Linked DNA regions of Homo sapiens: all the other regions are linked to region 3. Evidence: promoter capture Hi-C in 16 types of primary human blood cells and fetal thymus (Javierre and others, 2016). All regions are on one chromosome and are shown on one strand. Each heading gives the region's core, a stretch centred on a gene start or on the middle of the fragment in contact. The rest is flanking DNA. Distances are from core to core; before and after follow the strand shown. Region 1 has its middle 41 kb from the start of GCM1. Region 2 overlaps FBXO9 (F-box protein 9). Region 3 holds the start of MCM3 (minichromosome maintenance complex component 3). Region 4 overlaps CILK1 (ciliogenesis associated kinase 1). Region 5 has its middle 3.4 kb from the start of RN7SK. Region 6 overlaps GSTA4 (glutathione S-transferase alpha 4).

The links. Contacts are between HindIII fragments. The CHiCAGO score rates a contact against its expected background, and 5 or more counts as called.
Region 1: a contact is called between a fragment that was not itself captured here and the fragment with the promoter of MCM3 in region 3, in 1 of 17 cell types (naive CD4 T cells). The highest score is 5.3, in naive CD4 T cells.
Region 2: a contact is called between a fragment that was not itself captured here and the fragment with the promoter of MCM3 in region 3, in 1 of 17 cell types (erythroblasts). The highest score is 6.2, in erythroblasts.
Region 4: a contact is called between a fragment that was not itself captured here and the fragment with the promoter of MCM3 in region 3, in 8 of 17 cell types (total CD8 T cells, activated CD4 T cells, non-activated CD4 T cells and 5 more). The highest score is 8.2, in total CD8 T cells.
Region 5: a contact is called between a fragment that was not itself captured here and the fragment with the promoter of MCM3 in region 3, in 4 of 17 cell types (naive CD8 T cells, naive CD4 T cells, total CD8 T cells and 1 more). The highest score is 6.1, in naive CD8 T cells.
Region 6: a fragment that was not itself captured here is called in contact with the fragment with the promoter of MCM3 in region 3 in 1 of 17 cell types (total CD8 T cells); the score reaches 5.4 in total CD8 T cells.

The regions. Positions count from the first base shown.
Region 1 is chr6:53,187,519-53,191,766 of GRCh38, reverse strand. No RefSeq gene overlaps it. Among named protein-coding and RNA genes, the nearest start is that of GCM1, 41 kb to the right of the region's middle. The HindIII fragment of the contact is 1,652 bases long and covers 466-2,117 here.
Region 2 is chr6:53,080,867-53,085,009 of GRCh38, reverse strand. It overlaps FBXO9 (F-box protein 9), which reads right to left. Exons shown (of 13, transcript NM_033480.3): 6 at 3,912-4,042; 7 at 2,392-2,506. Among named protein-coding and RNA genes, the nearest start is that of FBXO9, 18 kb to the right of the region's middle. The HindIII fragment of the contact is 1,949 bases long and covers 337-2,285 here.
Region 3 is chr6:52,281,803-52,286,136 of GRCh38, reverse strand. MCM3 (minichromosome maintenance complex component 3) reads left to right here and starts at 1,395. Exons shown (of 17, transcript NM_002388.6): 1 at 1,395-1,540; 2 at 2,731-2,843; 3 at 3,276-3,484; 4 at 3,962-4,092. The coding sequence starts at 1,463. RefSeq lists enhancers at 918-1,117, 1,438-1,517. The HindIII fragment of the contact is 4,216 bases long and covers 1,271-4,334 here.
Region 4 is chr6:53,052,535-53,056,924 of GRCh38, reverse strand. The region is part of intron 1 of CILK1 (ciliogenesis associated kinase 1); the gene reads left to right. Among named protein-coding and RNA genes, the nearest start is that of CILK1, 7.1 kb to the left of the region's middle. The HindIII fragment of the contact is 905 bases long and covers 1,220-2,124 here.
Region 5 is chr6:52,996,787-53,001,275 of GRCh38, reverse strand. No RefSeq gene overlaps it. Among named protein-coding and RNA genes, the nearest start is that of RN7SK, 3.4 kb to the right of the region's middle. The HindIII fragment of the contact is 6,462 bases long and covers 1-4,489 here.
Region 6 is chr6:52,981,702-52,986,490 of GRCh38, reverse strand. GSTA4 (glutathione S-transferase alpha 4) reads left to right here. Exons shown (of 7, transcript NM_001512.4): 4 at 908-1,040; 5 at 1,886-2,027; 6 at 3,786-3,917. Among named protein-coding and RNA genes, the nearest start is that of GSTA4, 11 kb to the left of the region's middle. The HindIII fragment of the contact is 577 bases long and covers 3,234-3,810 here.

The DNA of each region.
Region 1 (4,248 bases), core at 42-2,541, 910 kb before region 3:
ATTCCTATGTCTAAAAAAACTAAGAGAAAATTACAGAGTGAAGTTTCTTTCTACACTTGTCCCCCATCTACCCAGCATTCCCTTCCTAAAACAAGTTTCTTTTTTATTCTTCCAAGGATTTTAATGCATATGAATATCAATATTTATTTACCGAAGTATATACACCTAGAGGCCAGGTGCAGTGGCTCACGCCTGTAATCCCAGCACTTTGGGAGGCTGAGGGCAGGAGTTTGAGACCAGCCTGGCCAACATGGCAAAACCCCGTCTCTACTAAAAATACAAAAAAAAATTAGCTGGGCATGGTGGTGGCAGGCGCCTGTAATCCCAGCTACTCAGGAGGCTGAGGTGGGAGAATTGCTTGAACCCAGGAGGCAGAGGTTGCAGTGAGCTGAGATGGTGCCATTGCACTCCAGCCTGGCCGACGAGCGAAACTCCTTCTCAAAAAAAAAAAAGAAAAAGAAAGCTTTACCAGATTCTTTTCTCTCTCTTTCTCCCATTTTTTTAACTTTTATTTTAGGTTTATGGTACATGTGCAGGTTTGTTAAATAGGTAAATTGTGTGTCACAGGGGTTTGGTGTACAGAAAATTTTGTCCCCAGGCAATGAACATAGTACCCAATAGGTATTTTTTCTGATCCCCTCTCTGCTCCCACCTTCCACCCTCAAGTATGCCCTAGCGCACCTGTTGTTCACCTCCCAGTGTCCATGTATTCTTGTGCGTAGCTCCCACTTATAACTGAGAACATGCAGTATTTAATATTCTGTTCCTGCATTAGTTTGCTTAGGATAATGGCCCTGGCTCTATCCATGTTGCTGTGAAAGACATGATCTTGTTCTTTTTTATGGCTGCATAGTATTCCATGGTATATATGTAATCACATTTTCTATTTTTTTTTTTTTTTTTTTTGAGACAGAGTCTCGCTCTATTGCCCAGGCTGGAGTATAGTGGCACCATCTCGGCTCACTGCAACTTCTGCCTTCTGGGTTCAGATGATTCTTGTGCCTCAGCCTCCCTAGTAGCTGCAACTACAGGCATGTTCCACCATGCCTGGCTAATTTTTTTTTTTTGAGACATATTTCACTCTTGTCGCCCAGGCCTGGGCAACAGAGCGAGACTCTGTCTCCAAAAAAAAAAAAAAAAGATAGAAAATGTGGTTACATATATACCATGGAATACTATGCAGCCAATAAAAAAGAACAAGATTGGCTGGGCACGGTGACTCACGCCTGTAATCCCAGCACTTTGGGAGGCTGAGGCAGGTGGATCACGAGGTCAGGAGATAGAGACCATCCTGGCTAACACAGTGAAACCCCGTCTCTACTAAAAATACAAAAAAAAAAATTAGCCGGGCGTGGTGATGGGCGCCTGCAGTCCCAGCTACTCTGGAGGCTAAGGCAGGAGAATGGCGTGAACCTGGGAGGCAGAGCTTGCAGTGAGCCGAGATCGTGCCACTGCACTCCAGCCTGGGCAATGGAGCCAGACTCCATCTCAAAAAAAAAAAAAGAACAAGATCGTTATTTTAAGCAAACTAATACAGGAACAGAAAATTAAATACTGCATGTTCTCAGTTATAAGTCAGAGCTACACATCAAGAACACATGGACACTAGGTGGTGAACAACAGGCGCTGGGGTGTACTTGAGGGTGGAAGGTGGGTGTCCATCTACTAGAAATATATAAAATATAATAATATACAATGTTATCAGAAGGTGATTTCAAGGGATTGGGAAGGATCCTGTGTGGCTTTGGCCAATATTGGCCATTTTGACCATTATTGTAGTTTACGTTAAAAATAACTAACATTTTCACAGAGCCTTAGAGTCTTAGAGTTATTGCATACTTATGTTATTCCACCTACATTAGTGGTGGAATGAGGCAGGAATGTATTATCATTTTTATTTTACAGATGAAATGCAAGGAGATTAAGTGACTTGTCCAAGAGCTAAGTAGTAAATGGGGTTGCCAGGAGTTGAATTCCAGTTGCCTGACTTGATGTCTAGCATAAAGGCAGCCAAGCAACTATATGATTTAGCTATGTAATGTAACCCTTTAGAGCCCACACCTTGCAAGCTCTGTGCCATAGCTTTTAGATTAGTTGCTTAAAACTGAAGCCAAGCTTTTCAGTGGCAATGATTTAAGTTGCTAAATATAATCATGACTCTCAAGAAAGTTATATTTTAACTTTGTATGATCTAGTTTTGTGTTTTTTTGTTGTTTTTTTTTTTGAGACGGAGTCTCCCTCTGTCGCCCAGGCTGGAGTGCAGTGGCATGATCTCGGCTCACCGCAACTTCCGCCTCCTGGGTTCAAGCAATTCTCCTGCCTCAGCCTCTTGAGTAGCTGGGATTACCGGCATGTGCCACCACGCCCGGCTAATTTTTTTTGTATTTTTAGTAGAGACGAGGTTTCACCATATTGGTCAGGCTGGTCTCAAACTCCTGACCTTGTGATCCACCCAACTCGGCCCCCCAAAGTGCTGGGATTACAGGCATGAGCCACCACGCCTGGCCCTAGTTGTCTAAAACTTTGAACAGGTCTTTAAAAAATATATTCTGTTGATCTACTGTGGATCAATATAAAGACATTTGCTAAGGATCAGATCCCATGTAATATCTTACACATTGGGTATAGATTAGGCTGGAACCTAGTTCTTAGATTCCTACTCAGTTATTTCACTAAATGAATACTTACTTAATTATACTTAGTGAATATTTTACTTAATTATGCTTACTAGGCAGAATAGTAGGAGATGTAGCTCTAACCTCTAGTGACATATTTTAATAAACAGATCACAGCCTGGGTAACAAAAGCAAGACCCTGTCTCTACAAAAAATATAAAAAATTAGCCGGGTGTGGTGGTGCATGCCTGTGGTCCTACTTGGGACCCTACGGTCCCAAGAGATCTGGAAGGGTCTCTTGAGCCCAGGAGTTTTAGGCTGCAGTGAGCTACTGCACTCCAGCCTGGGTCACAGGTGAGATTCTGTCTCTAAAACAAAAACAAAAACAAAACCAGATCAGACATACCAGTATTATGGTTCTTGGTGCTTTTGGTGGAGCTTCACCTTGGTGGGAGGAGTTCTAGAGACATCTCTTCTGCAACTGATTCCTGAAAAGGGATGACAGTAGCCCTCCCGCTCCCTTATCCACAGGGGATAAGTTCAGAGCCTGAAACTGCCCATAGCACTGAACCTGATCGCCATCAAGCGGAACACAGTTCTGTTTATGACCTCCACCCACACATTTCAATGTTTTTTTTTTCCTTAACTAAGCACTTATCACACACTGTTGTGAGCTTTGCAGTTTGAGATGCAACAACGAAACTAGCATGAATTTCTTTTTCTTTCTTCACGATCTCAGGGATACAAGATTCCTTCTTACTGCAGATCTTAGCAACCTCAAAATACGATGGTTTCCTCTTCTTTTAAGCTGAGAACTTTCACCTTTTCATTCAGAGGAAGCACTTCCGGCTTCTCTTTAGCTTTTTTTTTTTTTTTTTTTTTTTTTTTGAGACAGAGTCTTGTTCTGTCACCCAGGCTGGAGTGCAGTGGCGCAATCTCAGCTCACTGCAACCTCTGCCTCCCGGGTTCAAGTGATTCTCCAGCCTCAGCCTCCCGAGTAGCTGGGATTACAGGCGCCTGCCACCACGCCCGGCTGATTTTTGTATTTTGAGTAGAGAAGGGGTTTCACCATGTTATCCAGGCTGGTCTCCAACTCCTGACCTCGTGATCAGCCCGCCTCAGCCTCCCAAAATGCTGGGATTACAGGCGTGAGTCATGGCGCCCGGCCGGCTTATTTTTTTATTTTTTTTAGACGGAGTCTCGCTTTGTCGCCTAGGCTGGAGTGCAGTGGCGCGATCTTGGCTCACTGCATCCTCCGCCTCTCGGGTTCAAGCGATTCTCCTGCCTGTAGCTGGGATTACAGAGTTCCAGGTTGGAAATCACTTAAATTCTTCTCCAAAATTTGTGTGTTTAACCATTTCAAGGATCCCTTCAAATGCAATTATCTTAGGCAGGTGGGGCAGTTCAGGCTTAATGGCCCTGACCCCACACCCTCCTATTCCATTGGGTTATTTAGGTGGTTGTCTCTTGTTTTTTCTTTTTCTTTTTTTCTTTTTGAGATGGGGTTTCACTCTTGTTGCCCAGGCTGGAGTGCAATGGCGTGATCTCGGCTCACTGCCACCTCCACCTCCCGGGTTCAAGTGATTCTCCTGCCTCTGCCTCCCAAGTAACTGGGATTACGGGCGTGAGCCAC
Region 2 (4,143 bases), core at 62-2,561, 800 kb before region 3:
CAAGGCTTTGACTGAAAATGTCATATTTAAGAATGTGCATAAAACATCCGGCTTTAAGAGTTCTCAGCCTTATCGTGAGTAAAACCTGTCACTTCCTAGCAGGCCCAAGAACCTTAAGACCCTAAGTGAAGCCTAAAGTCTACCTCTCTTTGACTTCCTAGCCTCAAGAGATTTTTAAATCTGAAATTCCTATATGATCAATGTAGGAAAAAAACGTTTCTTAAAAAAAAAACTGCAATACACCTGTTGTTATCCACACGTACACCGGACTGTTTGATGAATTCTCCTAGTTTCCTCCAGGATTGGACTACAACACGCCAACTAAAAACAAAAGCTTCTGTTCGTAAAGCCCTTTAAGCTGAAACTATTCAAATTTTAAGAAACAAGTCTCATGCCTGATATATGAGCCACACAACAATATCATGACCAGAGACATTCAAACATAAATCAGGAGGAGAATCTGATGTTTTTGTGAAAGCTGTAGACAGCTTTTCCCATGACATCAGAACCATATCATAAGACTTTTACCCCCACTTAATGCTACTTTTTTCACTTGACAGGATAATGGTGTAATTGAAATTTCATAATCAATAGCTTCTGCTGGTAACTTAACAGAACCTAACCCAAGAAATCCTTTAGTATTCATTGGTTAAAAAAGAAAATATCTGTGCTATTGCTAGTACTACATGCTGTACCTAGATAAATCCCTCTGATAAAGTTGAGACCCATGTACACAAAATAAGAAAACAGGTAGCATGATTACATGGTCTCACCTAATTCCCTGTGGTCACTGGTCTACTCAATTAGTTGTTCTTAAGCCTAGGTTCATGGCTCAAAACCATTATGCAAATTGGAATTGTCATATTACTATTAACTTTGTTACTTGTTAAATTTCTGCAGAAGTACCACACCTAACAATAACGCTGGCCCAGCATTTTGAGTAACAAAGACTATGGAATAGACAAAAATCAAACTTAATAATGGAATCCAGGTAGACACAGCCTGAGAGTCATTCCCTTCAGACGTCCCTTCTTGCCCAAATGTGGCTTAAAAGCATTTTGACACGGACTCCTAGTTGCTAATCATTCTCCCCAACATGGGATGAGACTAGAAACCAGGACTGGTCTATGCTGGTACTATGGGATGTCAAAACCTAACTACAGGATGACTGATCAGAGAAAGATACTGATCAAAAGGGGAAAATGTGAAAGTTGTTAAAATAAAAATGGAGCCACTAATGTTAAGAAAACCCTGACAAAGAGAGCTGAGGAAGGCCATGAAGAGAAGGTTCTCAGGCTTCTATGACTGGTTAACAAAAAAGACTATAAAAAACACAGCTCTGCACAAAGGCCATCACAGCCTTATACAAAAAATATTTTTGCTGCAAGGACATCTGCCCAAGAAACTGTCTGTCCAATCTCAGACTGGCGTCCCCCTTGTTACTGATCTTTGTAGTCAAGGATTAAGTATTTCAAAACAATTATGTAATCCTCATTTTTTCCTTTAAAAACTTTTGTTTCCCTGAATAGTTTACTATGGCATGTGTATTCCCATTGCAATGTATTATTCTCAAATAAATGTCTTTTAGAGAGTCTATCTGCTTATTATTTAGGTTGACATAACAGTGCTAGAGACTCTAGTGGCAATCCACTAGGTGTTTAATAGGTACTTGTTAAATATACTAGCACACAGAATTGTGAAAAAGAGTCTTCAAGAAATTCAAATATTTTATGAAAACTACAAGATTCCAAATGGAATTAATTTAAAAATAATGCATCTGAATTTTAAGAACAAGTTGTTTTTAAAAATTCTATATAAGGACTAAGTATATAGTTTTAGGTTTTACATTTAAGTCTTTAATCCATCTTGATTTGATTTTTGTGTGTCGTGTAAGGAAAGGATCCAGTTTCCATCTTCTGCACATGGCTAGCCGCTTATCTCAGCACCATTTATTGAATAGAGTCCTTTCCCACACATAGCAAAATTTTCAAAATATAGAATAACTTTTAATGAGCCATAAGAAAATGCTAGTGCTGTTTTAATCTAAACCATTACCACAATGAGTTTACAGTTAGTGTAAAAATGACTTGAATATATTTTTCTAATATAACTCTTTTTCCCAAATCAGTTAAGCTAGCATGTAAACTCTATGGTAGTAGTATGGGTTACTACATCTGTCCTACATATTATTCTATACCCTAGAAACCTAGCATATTCTAGCCTTTAAATTCTAAGTTATTTGAGAAAGTTAAGTACAGCTTAGCAAAACTTGTTTATTCTAAGCTTTAACTCAGAACACCAATCAAGTAATTTTATCAGGATTGGCAAAGGACCATCTTTCTTTTCACCATTGCCTCAGTTGTTTAAAAAACAAAAACAAAAACTTAGTACCTGGCACAGATGTAGAATCCTCTGCACACCAGCGACAACTGCTCCAATGATCTGAGGTCCAAGTCACTAGACACCACCCATCGGAAGATGTACATCAGGACCTCCATTGGCAGCACTGCAAAAGAAAATCATCCTTCAGTGACTCTCCTCTATGTCATTCTATTGTCACAACTACATTCCCAGTACATTTATACCTTCCTAGAAATTTATAATCACACCCTCTGTATTGCTCAGAGCTAAAGCATGAATGTATTTAGCTACTCAATAATAATAATGGTTCTTAACATCAAGACATAAATATCTTTGTTTTTTCAGTATAGATCTGAAGCTACTTTTTATAAAGCACTCTTTTCCCTCATAAGATTATTTTGCCAGACATATTAAAATAAATGTTTTAGGAAAATAATCTATGTGTGTGTGATCCATATTGCATCTATTAACACTAAAGTTATTTTCATCTCCTTGAAAACTTTTAATTGTCCTCCTCTGAAAAAGCCCCGAACCAAACAATATTTAACATATTAAAAATACATGAATTTCTTTTTTTTTTGTGACAGGTTCTTGCTCTGTTGCCCAGGCTGGAGTGCAGTGATACAATCTCAGCTCACTGCAGCCTCTGCCTCCTGGGTTCAAGTAATTCTCGTGCCTCAGCCTCCCAAGTAGGTGGGACTACAGTCATGCGCCACGACGCCCAGCTAATTTTTGTATTTTTAGTAGAGGTGGGGTTTCACCATGTTGGCCAGGCTTATCTTGAACTCCTGGCCTCAAGTGATCCTCCCAACTCAGCCTCCCAAAATGCTGAGATTGCAGGCGTGAGCCACCATGCCCGAACAAAAATCCATTAATTCCTAAACATTCAGTCTGTCTCAGGACAATTGTCCAACATGGCTGAAATGCTTCATGATACCAGTATTCCTCCAGTTTTCTTAGGGCTACCTCAACAACTCAGACTTACCCTGTTAGATCTTTACTGAAAAAGGTATGGCATCCTTAAACAACAGCACTACAAACTGTTCTGCTTCAGATTGTAAAGCAGCTTACTACTGGGCTGGGCGCAGTGCCTCAGAGGCCTGTAATCCCAGCACTTTGGGAGGCCAAGGTGGGCAGATCATGAAGTCAGGAGTTCGAGACCAGCCTGGCCAACATGGTGAAACTCTGTCTTTACTGAAGATACAAAAATTTAGCTGGGTGTGGTGGCACACGCCTGTAATCCCAGCCACTTGGGAGGCTGAGGCAGCAGAATTGCTTGAACCCAGGAGGCAGAGGTTGCAGTGAGCCGAGATTGCACCACTGCACTCCAGCCTGGGTGACAGGGCACGTCTCCATTTCAAAAAACAAAACAAGACAAAACAAAACACAAAACAGCTTAATAGTATATGCAAATGATAATTATAACTAGATCTTCCACCATATTCTGAACTAAAGCAGCAGTTATCTGGCAAATTATCTGACCTTATAAATTTGGAAATCTTTAAGGTTAAGATATTTCTCACTGAGTTATGAAAAACAAGTATTCACACCTGATATGTGAATCTGACTGCTCTCAAGCTCAGGCTGACACAGTTTAAGCACAGACTCCTGAAATGTGAGTTGCTGCTGGAAGTAGGACAAGAGATCTGCCATTTTGCTGTCATCATCATTATCTTCAATGCTGAAAAAAGGGAGGTGAATAAATTAAGTGCCTCAGTCTACAAGCGTACAGTTTAGAAACTGATTTTTCATAGCATTTTCAAATTTGCTTTACAAAAAGTC
Region 3 (4,334 bases), core at 146-2,645:
TTGCTTTGGCTAAGGATCGATTTATCTGCCCACTAGGATGGCACAAAACATACAGTAACTATAAACTGAATAATAACTAGAAATACATATACCCACACAAATAGATGGCCTATATATTTTGTTTAGGCAGATTATTCTTAGAATATTTATCAGTACATAGTGAGTCCTGAAGACTTTAAAACATAAGCTAATAGTTGGCTGAAATTTCAGATAAAGAATTATCAAATGTCTGATGTTGGGCAATCCAGTATTTCAGCTTCTTGTTCAGTAAAATTAAAAACACATGCTGGGGCAATGGGCTTGCTCTTTATTGTGCAGAGTGGTTACATGGGTGTAAGCACAGGTAAAAATTCACTGAGCTGTACACTTAAGATTTGTGCATTTTACTGTATATACATTATATCTCAAAATAAAACTAGAAATATAAGAAAAAGCCAACCACGACGGACTGAAAACAAACATACAAATTTGGACGTGCGATGATCTTTTAGTCATTATGGTTTCAGATTTGCTGTTAGTTACTGATTGATATTTAATCAAAGTGACGTGAAACACTTTTTCCCCTCTTGAGCTGATCGTTCAGTAAGCTAAGTTACTTAAAAGGATCTTGTGATCTTTTTATAAGACCAGAAAGCCTTTAATTTACCTGTTATTAAGTAAGATGGAGTAGTAACGGTTTCCAAAATTTGTATAACACACGATGAAGTCTCTAGGGGGCAGGGTAAACACAGATTTTTTTTTTCACTTCATCCTTCTCTGCGGCGATGTCTTTATGGAGTTCGTCAGGCAACGGTATCAGATAGCAAATGGGTTTTTAACTAATCTTTCCCTAAGGTACTGTAGTTCTATATTCTATCCTATAGATTCTCAAAATCCACTTTTACACTAGGATGCCACTGGAGGGCAGTTCTGATTTGGATATATCTTAAAAATGATTTGCTTTTATGTTTTCATCTCCCTGCGTTATAAAGCACCATCCTCTGAATTTGGTCGTTGCATCGGGTCAAAAGTTCTGCAGCTTGAAAAACCCTGCAAAAACATCCGGAAAGGAGGGAGAACACTACAACTCCCAGAACGCAATGCTTTCCCTCTCGCCAGCCTGTCCCCTCCAGCTGCTCAATGACCAGCCTCTGTGAGCCTCCTCTCAGCCCTATTGGTCAGTTTGCTCGTCAGTGAGTGAGGCGGAGGGAGGGGAGGAACAGAGAATCCCGGATGGTACGTTTCCCGCCACCGCGGGGCGCGCAGCGGAAAACCCGAAGAAGAAGAAGCTTTTGATTGGACAGTCGCTAGTCCGACCTCAGAGAACTCAGCCAATCATAATGCTTATATGCTCCCAAGGTCCCCGCCTCTTCCTCGAGGTAACCTTTGGTGGCGGGAAGAGTTCGGAAGTTTTCGCGCCGGGGTGGAGTCATCCTGGGAACCTCCACGCGACTTTGGTGGAGGTAGTTCTTTGGCAGCGGGCATGGCGGGTACCGTGGTGCTGGACGATGTGGAGCTGCGGGAGGCTCAGAGAGATTACCTGGACTTCCTGGACGACGAGGTGAGGGAGGCGCCGGCGCGCGGGCTCTAGCGCTCGGAGCCCCTGCGGACGCGGCCCGGCCGGGAAGCCAGAGGCCCGCCAGACCTCCAGACCGTGTGCCGCAGCGGAGCCTGCCGGGCCCGAGCCTCCAGCCCCAATCTTGTAACTTCTCAACGCCGGACTCGCTAGTTTGTGTTCGATAAGTGAACTCTTAGGAAGCCAGCTTTCTCTTAAGTACAAGCGATGGTCCGGGCGCGCAAAAGGCGACAGGTTCCCATTAAGTGCAAGCAGATTGGCAAAGCCCACCTCGGCCTTTTGCATTTCACTGCTCTCTCTTGATTTGAGGAGACTGTGGGGGAGGGGCTGCCCTAGGGCTATAGTGACCAGCCGCGTTGCAGAGTGCTCAGATTTTAGGGACTGACGTTTTACCTGGAGGAAAAGACTCCATAATTCGGCTGCATTCTTTTTCAATACCAACTAAGATGCAGATAAAAAGTGTTTTGTGTGCAGGCCAAGGGGATTTTATGTGCAACCCAAGACTTAAAGCCATAGAATGTTGAAAAAACCATCTTGAAGGGTTGATGATGTGACCAAATAGCTGAGATTCTCTATTCCTTTAGGTCGGGGTATGAGAACCCTTTCCGTATTATAGAGATGATTGGAAAAAATATTACTTTTTACATAATTCTTAAATGAAAAGCCATTTTAATGTGACTATTAAGAGTCTGTTTTATTTACATTTTTATTGTATATATTTGAAGTGCACATGTTTTGATATACATGGTGAAATGATTACTACAGTGAAACAACATATCCATCTATTCACGTTGTTACCTTTAACATTCACATTGCTAGGTTTAACTTAACATTTTAACAAAGTTTGCACTTACTGTCCATTTAGACTTCTCATGAGCTCATTTTAATTCTCCACTAAAGACAGAAATTACAGCATGCAGAAAAGTTGTCCATGATGATGGGAATAACAGCATGGACCTTGAGGAAGTCATTATAATTCTTATAGTCCCCTCTTAGGGTGTTATTTCGAATCTAAAAACAGTGAATGAAAGGGAGAAATTGATGAGCACATACTTACTGGGGATTCAGCTCTGCTGCAGAGATTGACTTAGCTATCTGGCTATGAGAACTACTTCTGTTTAGAAACATTGTTTTTAAATTTGTGGCTATGGTGATATGTGGTGGCTGTTTTGCAGGAAGACCAGGGAATTTATCAGAGCAAAGTTCGGGAGCTGATCAGTGACAACCAATACCGGCTGATTGTCAATGTGAATGACCTGCGCAGGAAAAACGAGAAGAGGGCTAACCGGTGAGAGGCAAGGGGATATACTGGCTGTCAGTGAGAATGGCTCCCTTCCCTCTTGGCCAGATTGGAACAGCCTCTCAGGAGAGGACTTGTATGAAACAGGATTGATCTACAAGCCCTCGTAGCTCACCTGCACCTATTTTTTTTTTTTTTTTTTTCAAAAAGTGGGTGGTTGGCATTTTCCTCCCAAATGCCCCTCCTTCCAATGTTTAGCTGAATATCATTTTTATATCTTTGATAAGTTGAGGTGAAGTTGGTCCTTAGTTCTGGTATTTTACTGAGTCTTATAGGATGGTGTTTTACTGAGACTTATAGGAGAAAGCAGAAGCTGGATTTTCTCATTGTTTTTAATGATCTAAGAATGTCTGCTGTTTTGAGGATCCATTTTTTTGAGTTCTGCCCAGTCTAATTTTTCTTTCTCTTGCTTATGTACAGGCTTCTGAACAATGCCTTTGAGGAGCTGGTTGCCTTCCAGCGGGCCTTAAAGGATTTTGTGGCCTCCATTGATGCTACCTATGCCAAGCAGTATGAGGAGTTCTACGTAGGACTGGAAGGCAGCTTTGGCTCCAAGCACGTCTCCCCGCGGACTCTTACCTCCTGCTTCCTCAGCTGTGTGGTCTGTGTGGAGGGCATTGTCACTAAATGTAAGTGGGTTAAAGGGGGCCGCTTAGGAAATGAATAGACAGGGAGATGGGGAAAGCAGGAGAGGCAAAGTAGATCTGGGTAGCTTGTGGCTTCAAAGAGGTGGAGCATTGGAATTACGTGGTAAAACTTGGAGGGCTCAGTGTGTACAATGATTGGGGGACCTTGAGTAATCACATGTATTAGTAGAATGATGAATTCTGCTGAGAGCTGGAGGAGTCTTGGTTCCTGGCAATCTCTAATTCCAACCTCTAACTCCACCTATTTATTAGTTGGGATTGGTGGTACTTAAAATTTTACATGGATATGGTGGTGGTCTATATATAAATAAAAAAGTGAATAAAAGGTAATATTGAAATATCGTAACCTAGTCAAAAAAACACAGTATTTGGAGTCATTATAGGCTTGCATATGTTTGGGTTCCACCTGTATCATCGTCTAGTTGGGTGAGTTTATATATGCACATTTTCCATCCCTAGGTTCTCTAGTTCGTCCCAAAGTCGTCCGCAGTGTCCACTACTGTCCTGCTACTAAGAAGACCATAGAGCGACGTTATTCTGATCTCACCACCCTGGTGGCCTTTCCCTCCAGCTCTGTCTATCCTACCAAGGTAAGGGGGATAAATCAGTTGAGCTGTCTTGGAGGTTGGAATCAAAGATACCTGTTTTAAGGCAAGGAATTGTGTAATATCTGAAGTCTTTTTTCTGTAAAGGGTGAAAAATAAGGATTAATCCAAAGGAAAGATTGATTGCAGGCCAGAGTTTAATATGAAAAGCCCACAATTCTTATTTATTTATTTATTTATTTTTAAAGATGAGGTTCTCCTATGTTGCCTAAGTTGGAGTGCAGTGG
Region 4 (4,390 bases), core at 423-2,922, 770 kb before region 3:
AAGGAGTCATAATTTTGGTACCCTAGTCCCAGTACAGTTGTCCAGTTTGCAAAGAAGTGGGGCGTGACGGGATGACAGTGAGGGTGGACGTGGTAGTATAGGAAAATCATCTATGGTCAGGATTGCCTTTTAAAGCTCCATAAGTTGTTCATTCATTAGTTAATTCATTGAACATGTCTTTATTGTGAGTCCGTACTTGTGCCAACTATGCCAGTTCTCTGGGAACTGAGTACTGGGAATACAGTTGTGAATATTGCAACGTTTCTGACCTCACAGAGCTTATATTCTAAGGTTAAACACAGCTTGTATGTAGCCCTGTAACCTAGGGGTAAGTGAGGGCTCTATGGAGAGTACTAAAGTGCTTCTGCTTATTTGGGGGATTTCCTCATCTTCAGGGCTTGACAAACTATGGCTTGTGTGCCAGTCCTTCCTGCTGCCTGTTTTTGTAAATAAATTTGTACTGGAACACAGCCATGCCCATGTATTTACATATTGTCTTTGACTGCTTTCATGCTACAATGGCAGAGTGGAGTTGTGACGGAGATGGAGAGCCTGCAAAGCCTATCCTGTTTACTGACCCTTCACAGAAAAAACGTGCTTATCCCTGCCCTATTTTATTTTTACATTAAGCCTTTACTTCCTTTAATTCATTTTGATTTTTTGTATACATGCTAGCAAAGCATCTTACACTGAGATCAGCTCCTTAGTCAAATGTGTTGTAATAGCATATAAATACTGATAACATGTGGCTGTCCTTGTAACTACCGTAAAAGATAATGCGTTAGAACCAGAAAGGTAAAGTATTATTGTGTAACGTCCAGCTACTTATTTGCCAGTATCATGAAAGTTACTATCTACATGAACTTGTGATATGCTCTTAGTCACTCCCCTATCTTCACTATCCCTTATCTTGCCCACCCCTGAAACACAGGCAAGCAGGACTATTGCCACCCTCGGCAGTTTTCATTAAGCTGGGGACTCTCGTTCTAGCTCATCTACAGTTTCACACATGGCAGGGTAAAGGTTTGTTTTTCTGGCTGTTTTTTTATTTTTTATTTTTTTTAACATTTCGCCTTTACTTCAGTTCTTTACAGTCCACCAAAGCCAACTATGTGTCCTAGTTTAAAAATCATCTGCAAGTGATTGAAGAACTTTTTTAAGGTTCAAGGCGTGAGCACCTTTTATATTGTAAGAGAAGCGACAGGGAGTTATGGAAGCTTCTCATGGGATTAAGGACCTAGTGCAGGACGAGTTCTTTTTTCAGAAGCTGGGATTGAAAGAGGAGAGGGATGGTAAAGGTATGAAGAAGTTTCTGGGGCACAGAAGAAGGCACATCATGTAACGGATTATCTTCTCTTGTTAACATCCAGTTGATGCAATAGCTGAATGCATCTTTAATTCACTCCTCTGTCAAGGTAAAGACAAAGCAAGATCCATGTAAAGAAGGTCCTTTTGGCTTTGTAACTGCTATTCCTTATGCAGAAAAAAAGCAGTAGTCCAAGAGGCAAAATGCTTAAAAGGTTTGCTTGCTAAAATGTACAGAGGCAGAAGAATTAGGTCCAGGAGAAAAACATAAACCCGGATATACTATTTCTAGTACCTTTTTAAAAGAAATTAACAGTATTCACTGACTTTTGTAAAGTTAGGACACATTCAAACCTAGAATACGAAGTCTAATTATAAACCTGTAAAGGTAAAATGGAACTCAGAATTACCATGAGAAGGGTCATCTAATGATTTTGCATATAATCCACTTTTCCTAGGAGGATAAATGAAAGTAACAGAATCTTTTCAATGTAAGATAATTAATGCAAAGGGAGACAAGCTCCTTCTAAGGAACTGAATGGTGTCAGTGGGCCTGGTAAACCACAACTCCCAGAGAACCCCAAGTTTGCTGTAACTTTTTGTCTCCTGTCTTAGAAAATGTGTAATGATGGCATTAATTCATTGATTAAGGTTTCAAAATAAAGAATGAACTACAATTTTCCCTGCCCCTCGCCTCCATTTTTTAGGCTGTGAATGAGCAAGGCACCTGATGTGAGCTGCTGGCCATGAGCAAATGTTCTTTGCCTCCACCGAGGATTGACGCTGAGGGGAGGGAATTGGGGCAAATCACAGGAAGCTTTTCCCCAATGTCACCTAGCCAGGAACATCATAACATTGACTTCAAAGGTTTGCTGGAACTCTTTGAAAGAGAGATAAAGCTGTCTTTCTTTGGTAGTTGAGTACAGCCTTACCCAAAGGCCAAAGGCCTGATCTGACCGCATGGAGGGGGACTTTCTGTGATCCTCTGAGACTCAGTCATCTTGGCATTGTTGTGGGAGGGCCCAGGCTGCCTGCCTGCCCCAGCTATTCTGTGGTATTCACTGTTCTTCCACTTCAGAACTTCAGAACTTTTAGTTGGGCCCAACAGTTTATCTTTGTTTTGTGTATGACAAAATAGAAGCACTGAGAATTTTGAGGTACTTAGCCAAGGTGGTACAGAAAATAATAGCAAAGACTAAAACTCACATTTGGGCCCTTCAAACAATCTTTGAGGACTTGCTACTGCAAGTGGAGTGAGAAGACAAAGATGAAGCAGTCTTGGAGAGTGTCGAGGCTGAAGCAGAGGGTACACCTGCAGGTCATTGCCACGGGGAAGGGGCTGGCAGTGAGGTGAGGACAAGGCACTATGGCATCAAGGGAGAGGACCATTCTCGGGTCTATATGTGTAGGTTGGGGCAGGAGGCTTGGAAGAGGTGACATGTGAGCTCGAAAGAGAAGGAATCGATGTTTAATGTTTACTGGGGCCTGGCTGAGGCACTGGGGCACTTGTGCATCTCTTGAAAGAAAGGTGTGTAGCATACAGGGTCCTTCGGTGGCACTGTCTTCTCCGCTAACCTTTGTTCATGTGATGCAAAAAGCAGAAACATTTATCCTTTTTTTTTTCTTAGACAAATGCTAGCTCAATTCCTGATACAGAGTCACAGAATCACACAGCTTTAGAGGAAGAAACCACCTTAGAGCAAGTCCCATGCCCTAATTCCACCAAAAGTAAACTCAAGGACCAAGAGATGCCCCGAGGCACAGCAGATCAGTGCTGAGTGGAAACTGGAACCAGTCCCTCACTTTGCCTCCACTGTGGGCATGTTGGTGCTGCCAATGGCTCCAGAGGATTCGCTGATATTTGATTGCAGAATGAAGACAATTAGAACATAGCCATATCATTCATTTTCATATTTGGGCTTTGAGATACAAAGTACTACTTCTGTTCCTGTCATTTTCAGATCCTCCAAAGATTTCATGATCTTTTGAAAGCTTTCCCTTAAGTTTGGTACAGTCAGCCTGGGTTCCTGTCTCATTTCTGCCACATTAGTCGTATAATCTAGACATGTAACTTGTGTCTCAGTTTCCTTCTCTGTAAAATAGGGATAATTGTAATAGTACCTGCCTGGTAGAATTATGAGGGTTAAATGTACTAATATATGCATAAGCACTTATAATAGTACTATGCACATACTAAGTACTAAAATTATCATGTTTTGGGCATATTTGATATATGAGGGTGCTAAGTGTAGATTCGTTGTAGTGAATGATTTATCCAAGTTAATTCTTGGAGTCAAAGCAGAATTTAGAAATACTGCGAGTTAGAAATACATGCTAATTCTCAAGGTAATGGACAGGCTGCTACATTCCATTCACTTCTCAAGCAGTGTTAACTATCTGTACCAGAAGCTGAATTTAAATGCTGTCAGGGCAGAGGAGGAAAATAAAAGACTCAAGGAAGCTGGGTGTGTGCTTGTCAAACAGTAAGAAATTGCTCTTCTCTTCTAAAAAAGAACAATTTTTCTTCTCTTCCAATTTTTCTTTAAGTATAAGGTTTTTTTTTTTTTCAGGCTTTTACTTTGTCACTTTTGTTATAGGCATAGGAACAGAGAAATATTTTTCATCCAGTAAAACAAGTGGCTATGAAGGCACACAAAAAAATGACAGCTAAAAAAAAAAAATGGCAAGTGGCAACAGGCAAAAAATGGGGACTGTGGTGAGCTGCAGAGCACACGCCCAGCCTGAAGAGGTACGGACATTTCTTCCACTTCTTATTACCGTGAAGGGCTAAGGACCCCAGGTGGTTAGACCTTCAGTGTTTCCAGAGAAGCTCCAAATAGGGATTTATATAGGAAATTCCCTATTTTTTATTTATTGATTTTTTTTTTTTTGAGACAGAATCTCACTCTGTCCCAGGGTGGAGTACAGTGGTGCGATCTCTGCTCACTGCAACCTCCGCCTCCTGGGTTCAAGCAATTCTCCTGCCTCAGCCTTCTGAGTAACTGGGATTACAGGCATACACCACCACGCCTGGTTAATTTTTGTATTTTTAGTAGAGACAGGGTTTCACCATGTTGGCCAGGCT
Region 5 (4,489 bases), core at 906-3,405, 710 kb before region 3:
CATGTTCTTCCATTAGTATTTTCTAATTTTTGTCCTTAGTTAGTCCATTTGGAACTTCGATGTTTTCTAACTTCTCCTGAATGCTTAGTATCTATCGTGCTACTGCTATGAAATTAGATGCATGCACTTAGAGCAGCAGAATGAAGAGTTATCCTGCAATGTGGAGGTTTTGTTAAAGTTCAGCTTTTAGAAAGTTAGGCGTCTGGGAGTGGTGGCTCATACCTGTAATCCCGGCACTCTGGGAGGTGGAGGCGTGAGGATCCCTGGAACCTAGGAGTTCGAGACCAGCCTGGGCAACATGGCAAGACCTGTCTCTACCAAAATTACAAAATTTAGCCGGATGTGGTGGTGTGCACCTGTGGTCCCAGTTACTTGGGGGGCTGAGGCAGGGGAATCACTTGAGCCCAGGAGACAGAGGTTATAGTGAGCCCAGATCACCCCCCTCCACCCCAGCCTGGGCAACAGAGTGAGGCCCTGTCTCAAAAAAAAAAAAAAAAAAAAAAAAAAAGCAAAAGCAGGTGGAAACAGTTTCTTGTTCCTGATTTCATCATTTTAACCTGCCTTGTATGTCTTTTAGCTTTTCACAGCACATTCTCATATACAATATAAACCTTCAAAAGAAGTTCATAACTTCATGAACTACATAAAGAATGTCACAGGAAATTCATTTTCTAAACATTCTTTGACTCCTTGACAGGATTTTCTAGGAACATGATCTACCAATCAAACTTGCATTGGTGAATCCCTAAGTGTGCCTCTCGCCATCAGAACAGTGACTTTACTGTGTAGTCATGGGCATTTGTCTTTTTGGCATCACGTTGGGCCCATGTTGCCCCTTCAGAAACCCTGAAGAAGCCATTTCAAGCTCTCAACCATCTTTCCTGATAAGAAAACCCACTTGTTAGAATAGGGTCTTACACCAATCGCTTATAGCTAAGGCTGAATTTAAGTCAAATGTTTCCCTCTTCTGGGAGTATACAAAGCTCTTAAACTGAGATTTGAAGCTCTTGACTTCTGTGCAAGCAATTTTACCTACTACTGAGCAGATGAGTGAAGGGTTGAGGCTAAGAAGACTTCTCAGGGCCTCTGAAAATGTATCAGGTAGGTAGGTGGGTAGGTAGGTAGGTAGAATAGATAGATAAAATGAGTAAGACTGTCTCAGGATGAGGGCAACTCTAAGGGTCTTCAAGAACAAGTAGGTTGATGATGTCAGGGGCTTCAAAGGAATAAAATGCCTTTGGGGTACCTGTCATAGAGTGCCAGAACTATTATAACAGGAGTTTTCATTTCTCCCCAAGCCTGTGTAATAGCAGTCATGCTGCTACCTTAGTTACACTTTCAGGTGAACAAGGCTGAGTGTTACCCAAAAAAGGTGTCCTGATCCAGATCCTAAAAGAGGGTTCTTGGATCTCGCACAGGAAGGAATGTAAGGCGAGTCACCCAGTGCCATGAGAAGTAACATTTTATTGAAAGCTACTCAGTTACAGAGTAGAGCATTCTCAGAAAGCAAGAGGAGGAATGCCTCTTCTTTGTTTTTATTCGATAGGGGTCTTATCTCTGTAAAAGGTAAGCTAAGCAATGTCTACGTGCGAGTGGGCTAACAGAATGAAAAAAATTAGTACTTTGTTAATTTAAAGAAAGGTATCCTTGGCATTTTCATGCGTAAATACGTGAAAGCATGACTATAATTACCTTAAAGGTGTTTAGCATTATGCAATATTGGAACATCTGGACATTCTACTGTCATAGGAATTTGTCCTTCCAGGTATTATTAAGCTATTTCCTCAGCTGTAGACATCTTAAGATGGAGCTGATTTTTTTGTTTTTTAATCTAGTTTAAGTTCCAGAATACAAGCGCACAACGTGTAGTTGTGCCATGGTGTAGTGTGCCATGGTGGTTTGCTGCACCTATTAACCCATCATCTAGGTTTTAAGCCCGGTATGTATTAGATATTTGTCCTAATGCTCCCCCTCCCCTCACTCCCCCACCCCCCGACTGGCCCTGGTGTGTGTTGTTCCCCTCCCTGTGTCTATGTGTTCTCATTGTAAGATGGAGTTGATTTTAAAATGCTGTCACCCTGGCTCTCCTACACTCCTGTTTCCCTAACTCTAGGATGATGTTGCCTCTATTTTATAAGATTGGACATCTGAAACTGCCATTTTTGAAGGTTAAAAACAGTAAGATATTAGCAATTTGGTATAATTCAACCAGTTGGAACTAAGCAAATGGAGACAAGTGCTTGGCTTAAATGTCTAATAAAAGCAATCACAAAAGCCAGGTGCAGAGGTACATGCCTGTAATCACAGCACTTTAAGAGGCAGAGGTGGGAGGATCACTTGAGCCTAGGAGTTTGAGACCAGCCTGGGCAGCATAGTTAGACCCCTTCTCTACAAAAACTAAAAATTAGCCAGTAGTGTCATGCGCCTGTAGTCTCAGCTACTCAGGAGGCTGAGGTGGGAGGATCACTTGAGCCTCGAAGCTGTAGTGAGCCCTGATCGCACCATTGCATTCCAGCCTGGGCAATACAGCAAGACCCTGTCTCCAAAAGACAAACAAACAACAACAACAACAACAACAACAACAACACACGATCACAAAAGACTATAAGAACCACAACCTTCCACAATGGCCATTGCAGTCTTACACAAAAAAATACTGGGATTATTGCCCTTGTTATTCATCTTTGCAGCAAAGGATACTTATTTTAAAACAATTATGCCATCGTCATTTTTGTCCTTTAAAAATCTTTGTTTTATTTTACCTCCCTGAATACACACATAATTTACTATGGCATGCATATTCCTATTGCAAAATTCAATTTCCAAATAAATATTTTTAAAGAGCCTCTTTCTGTTTGTTATTTAGGTTAACATAAAAAATCTAGAGATGATTTAAAGTAAACCAAAGGATGTGTGTTAAGTTACATGCAAATACTACACCGTTTTATATAAGGGACTGGAGCATGGTCTGATTTTGGTAGCTGAGGGGGTTCTGAAACCAATCCCCCACAGATACTGAGGGATGACTGTACTTTAAAATATCATGTTGTACACAGTAAAAATATACAATTTTATTTGTCAATTAAAAAATAAGCTCCTTGAGGGCAAGAACTGGATTTTATAATTTATTTTTTATGTCTCAGTAAATCCAGTAGACCTCAGCACAGATGTTCAATAAACCTTCCTTAATTATAAACTAAAAGCAAGAAAAAAAGAATGACCACTTTCAGCAAGGCTGGAAAATATGGCTTCCTACTCATGTTAAACTGAGTAATTGCTGTTAAATCAGAACTAGAAATATGATTGGATATACACTGTTAAGTCTTTTTTGAAAACGACTTTTCTGACTTTTGGGGTGCCCAGTGGTCCTTGACTTACCTCTCTTCTTACCCTGCATACCTTCTCTGGATGAGCTCATTCTTTTGCCACCAATTCAACCGATTTCAGTTCTCTCTACTGAGTCCTCACTGGGTTGGTTTTTGTCTTTTCGGTTTTTTTTTTATAGGGAGTCTTACTTTCTCGCCCAGCTTGTACTGCAGGGGCGTGATCACGGCTCACTGCAACCTCCGCCTTCCAGGTTCAAGCGATTCTCCCGCCTCAGCCTCCTGAATAGCTGGGACTACAGGAACAGGCCACCACGCCCGACTAATTTTGTATTTTTAGTGGAAACAGGGTTTCACCATGTTGGCCACGCTGGTCTTGAACTCCTGACCTCAGGTGATCCGCCCGCCTCAGCCTCTCAAAGTGCTGGGATTACAGGCGTGAGCCACTGCGCCCAGCCCTCAATGGCTTTTTCAACTGTCTAGTGGGTATTTCCAGCTGGATGGTTCATAGCAACAAAAGACAAGTCAACCCATTTTCCCCAAACTTTGTCTTCCTTCTCCGCTCTTTATGGAACTAGAAACCAAAGCATTGCTCATTCATTCATTCAACAAGTGTTCTCTGAATACCTACTCTATACTAACCAGGATGTACAAAAGGAAAACCAAAAGCGCAAAAATCCTCGATCTCGTGGAATTTACATTCTAGGAATCTACAGACAAATAAATAAAAAAGTCCTGTTAGATGACAATACATGTTATTAAAAAAAAGACAAGAAGTGTGTGTGTGTGTGTGTGTGTGTGTGTGTGTGTGTGTGTGTGTGTGTGTGTGTGTTGGACAGGGCATCATTCTAGACTTTTCTTCCTCCTCCCTTCCCTTTGATCTGATTAGCAATTGCTTTACCACCTACCTCCTTAGTATTTCACCTTTTCTTACTCATATTCTTCAAACTCATGGTGCTACTTTAATTTACACAGACACAAGAGGTTTCTTTCTCTACCCCTACTACCCCAATTCATTCGCCTCACTTTGGCCAGAGAAACCTATTGAAAATAAAATCTGATCATGTTAGCGGCTGCAATTGTTCAGCACCCAGGCTTGTCAAGCAAGGTACTCTCGAGCGCCCCCGTGGGTGAAGAAAATAACAACATCTATAGCCTGAGAAATA
Region 6 (4,789 bases), core at 2,273-4,772, 700 kb before region 3:
GGTCTGTTCTGTGGCTACAGAGTAGCCATAGAGTATACATGAGCCAAAGAGTATACATGAGTCTCAGCTAGTTACTTAGGTTTCATGATCAGATTCTCTAAAAACAGTGCTGTCCAGCAGAACATTCTACAGTGAAGGAATCGTTCTATTCTGCATTGTCCAATATGGTAGCCACTAGGCAAATGTGACTGTTGAGCACATGAAATATGTCTAGTGCAACTTAGGGACTGAATTTTAAGTTTTAAAAATTGTAATTAATTTAAATTTAGATTTACATAGCTGCGTGTAGCTGGTGACTGCTGTATTGGCCAGTGTAGCACTGAAGAAATATCTTCACTACATTCCCCTCAATCCCTTATCACTGTGGATAGGTATTTTTCCTGGGGTGAAAATGAAAAGGGAACGTTTATAACAATGCTAGTTTTCAGCCTTCTTTTTTTTTTCGAGGTAGAGTCTTGCTCTGTTGCCCAGGCGTGCAATGGCGCGATCTTGGCTCATTGCAACCTCCGCCTCCCGGGTTCAAGCAATTCTCCTGTCTCAGCCTCCCAAGTAGCTGGGACAACAGGCATCTGCTACCACACCCGGCTAATTTTTGTATATCTAGTAGAGGCGGGGTTTCACTATGTTGGCCAGGCTGGTCTTGAACTCCTGACCTCATGATCCGCCTGCCTTGGCCTCCCAAAGTGCTGGGATTACAGGCTTGAGCCACCACGCCTGGCCCCTTCAGGCTTCTTTTGTGGCTAAATCTGCTCTCCTGAATGAAGTTAAGGTTATCTGTCATCTGGAAGCTTTACACTATTTCCTAAGGCCATGATTCCACCGTTTCTTTTCATTCCACAGAGCATTTTTTAGGGGTTGGGGGACAGAGAAGAAAAGATCACTTCTAACTCTGGGCTTCCATTCTCAGGTAACCACCTGCTGTTCCAACAAGTGCCCATGGTTGAAATTGACGGGATGAAGTTGGTACAGACCCGAAGCATTCTCCACTACATAGCAGACAAGCACAATCTCTTTGGCAAGAACCTCAAGGAGAGAACCCTGTACTGTGGCCCCTCTCGAGTGTTGTCACTTGTCAGCTTACTGATGCCTTAGCTGATTAGCAACCTCTGTAGCACACCACATTTACTTTATGTCTTACATAGTTAGTGAGATCAGGGAACAAAAACCCAAGAAGGTCACGAAGACCAGTTGGAACTTCAGTAGAGAGAGTCTGAGTAAAACAAAAGAATAGGATTCAGATATTGAATATTATATCTAGGGTGTCATTGTTTCAGATTTCAACATTTTTAAATGCTTTGATACTGCTTTTTCCCTTTCTTGCACATTCACTATTGTTAAGTATTAGGAATGAGGAGCTGCTGTGACATTCAAGGCCTGGGAGAGTGAGCATTAGATTATAATTTGAAATCAAAGCCTGGTCCTTGCACCCCTTAGATGTATGACCCTGGGCAACGTGGGTATAAGAATAGTACATTTCTCATAGTGTCATGTGATTTAATGAGATAATGGATAGAGAGTGTTTAGCACCATGCCTGGTACACTCTAAGCACTCAATAAGTGGTATTCACTATTTTTATAAAGTTGAAGTTTGACCCATACGAAGAGACCAAAACATGGATGCTGGGGTAAAAGTGGAGGAGTAGGATGCCAGGAGAGAGAGCACTCATGACTGTCAAGCTGTCTGATCTGTGACAGATTTTTCTGAGTTACAACTAGAATTGACCTTATATCTTTGCTCTTAAGAGACAGGTATAGGTAAATGCTTCTAGGGACTTAAGTTGCAGCATCTTTAAAAAAAAAAAAAAAAGCACTCTGAATTCTTAGTTGTGGAAACTGATGGCTTCAAAGAGAGGAGAAACTGAGACAACTGCTTTTTTGTTTTAAGGATTGACATGTACGTGGAGGGGACACTGGATCTGCTGGAACTGCTTATCATGCATCCTTTCTTAAAACCAGATGATCAGCAAAAGGAAGTGGTTAACATGGCCCAGAAGGCTATAATTAGATACTTTCCTGTGTTTGAAAAGGTAGGTGGCAGAGATGCCTACATACACAGAGCAACCAAACCACAAACCACAAAGAAGCTGCCACAAACACCCTTTTCTGTCCAAGGATTTTAAAACTGAGCCCAGTTGAACTAACCTAAGCGCTAATGGACTCCTAAGAGCGAATAGTAGCCACAGCACAAAGCTGGTGTCTTAGAGCCCCTTGGACTCTGCTAGGACCACATGATTCAGAAGTCTAGAAAAAGTATGGGCTCCCTGCCTTTGTTCCTTATTGTTCCTTGCATTCACCAAGTTCCCACCTTGTGTGGATACAGCAGAAACTTCAGAAGATACAGAAAACAAAAACTACCTCATTCATTCATTCAACAAAAGTTGTCGAACAGCTGTCTCAGCTGACATCCTCCCTGATAATTCGATATGAGTAGAAGAACCATTTCCATTTTATTTATCTTCCCTTTGCTCTTTTTGTTTTTGGTTTTGTTGTTTTTCTCTTCTTGTTATATCTGCTTTTCTGAGCTTCAAATTCTTTATTCCTGAACTGGGAGGAACTTTTTTAGTGTTTCAATGCAAACACTAAAGAAGAGGGTGTGAAAATATGGGAAGACCTATTTGGCAAGCTTCCTCTGACCATCTTTATGGAACTAGATTTAGGAAAAAGGAGAGGTATTTTCTGGGGTTTCTGTAGCTAGGTTTTATGGTATCTTTCCCACAGGCACTTTGTGAATGTAAAATAGGATAATGAAGAAATGTGGTCTGGAACGGGCACAGAGGACCTGGTGCTTTGGCAAAGGTTCACTGCTCATTCTTAGGTCCCAAGGGCCCAGACTGTGTCAGGGTTTCTTGCAACACGCCTATGAGGTGAGAACCGTTGTCCCTTTTACACATAATGAAATGAAGTCATGAAGAGATTCAGTGACCTGTCCAAGGTAACATGGCCAGAAAATGGAGAGCAGGGTTGGAACTCTGGCCTCTGACTACAAATTCAGGATGCATTGTACTATGCCACTCTGGCTCCAGTAGCTATATTTGACCTGGAATTGTGTTCGGAGTCCCTGTGACACACACACTTGTGCACATGCAGACACCCATGGGCATCCAAGAGTTGACTGTGAAGGGGATCTCCCCTTTGCTACTACTGCTTCTTGCCTCTCCCTAATCACAATCTATTCTTATAAGCCCCACACCTATACGTTACCCTCAGAATGGGAGTCAAGATGAACTCAAGCTTTTCATTTTCTCTGTTTTGGGACATGTAAGAGGAAGTCTAATTTTATAATTGGGTTGAGTTTATGACTACACCTCTTGATGTTCTAGCAGCAGAACTGGGAAATAAGAGTGGGCCCCTTGAAGATGATCTATCACTTAGATTTCTTAAATCACCCTGCCCCTCCCCAAGCCTCCTGCATGCATTTCTGTAGATACATTTTTGGAGTAGATATATCCTTTCAAAACACCAGATGCTAAATCCAGAAATAAGGAATTTTCCCTTCCCCACTTCAATGTCTCATTCAGATCCACAGCAGATATTTAAGGATGCTTTCATTTCCACACCTTTTTTGTACTTTCTCTCTCTCTCTCTCGCTCTCTCTCTCTCTCTCTCCCCCTCTCTCTCACTCTCTCTGTCAGATATAGGGTGCGTTCTCTTAATTGATGTTATTTATGAAAGCATGAAATGACAAGGTCATAGTTTCACCTCTTCTCAGATACTGCACTGATTCAATAGCCTCATCACTCTCTCCATGTGGAATATTGTAACTGATGCACACCATTTCCCTACAGATTTTAAGGGGTCACGGACAAAGCTTTCTTGTTGGTAATCAGCTGAGCCTTGCAGATGTGATTTTACTCCAAACCATTTTAGCTCTAGAAGAGAAAATTCCTAATATCCTGTCTGCATTTCCTTTCCTCCAGGTAAATAAAACTATGTATTAGAAGATTGGCCTAGAACTCTTGGGCCTTCCTTCAGTGTCTATTGTTTGGTTGGCTTTGGGGAGTGTGTGTGTGTGTGTATGTGTAATATTTTTAAGATTCTAGTTTGGCAAATGAAATGAAAGTAAGGACCCAAAGTTATTTTTCTGGTCCTTAAATCCTTCAAGTTGAAAGATCATTGAAGTGTAAAATTTTTTTTTTTTAAGGTGGGATCTTACTATGTTGCCCAGAATGGTCTTGAACTCCTGGGCTCAAGAGATCCTCCCACCTCAGTCTCCTGAGTAGCAGGGACTATAGGCATGTGCCAGCACACCCAGCTCAGAAATTTTCATCTTAATTTTGTTCCATAACTGCACTCCTGGAAAAAACTCCATGCACAGGGAGTTTGCCTCAGGGGACTTTCCATAGAAATAACCATAGAGATGAGGTGGTCTCACACTCACATGTATCTACTGATGGAATAGTGGGCGAGATAAACATCAAAACAGTCTCATTCATCAGGCTATGACTCCCTTTCTCAGAAATAGTATGGTCTCAAGTTAGGAAATTCTAAGCCTGAGCTCTGAGAGCAAATGAGAGATGTTAGCACCCTAAACATCACCCCAAAGGATTCCTACCATTCTCCTTCTGAGAATTCCAAGGAAAGACTTGTGTGGTTCAAATTATCCCTCAGGGTTATTCTGGCAGGATTGATCATAGAACTTTAAAGGAGAGAAGGGCCTTTAAAAAAAAACTCATTTAATGACTTCAATATTCACTTGAGGAAGTAGAGACCCAGAATAAAGAAATCAGCAGCCAAGCTGGCTTAGGCAGTGGATGCTTGAGTTTTATCTAGAACCTTAGCCTTTTATCTC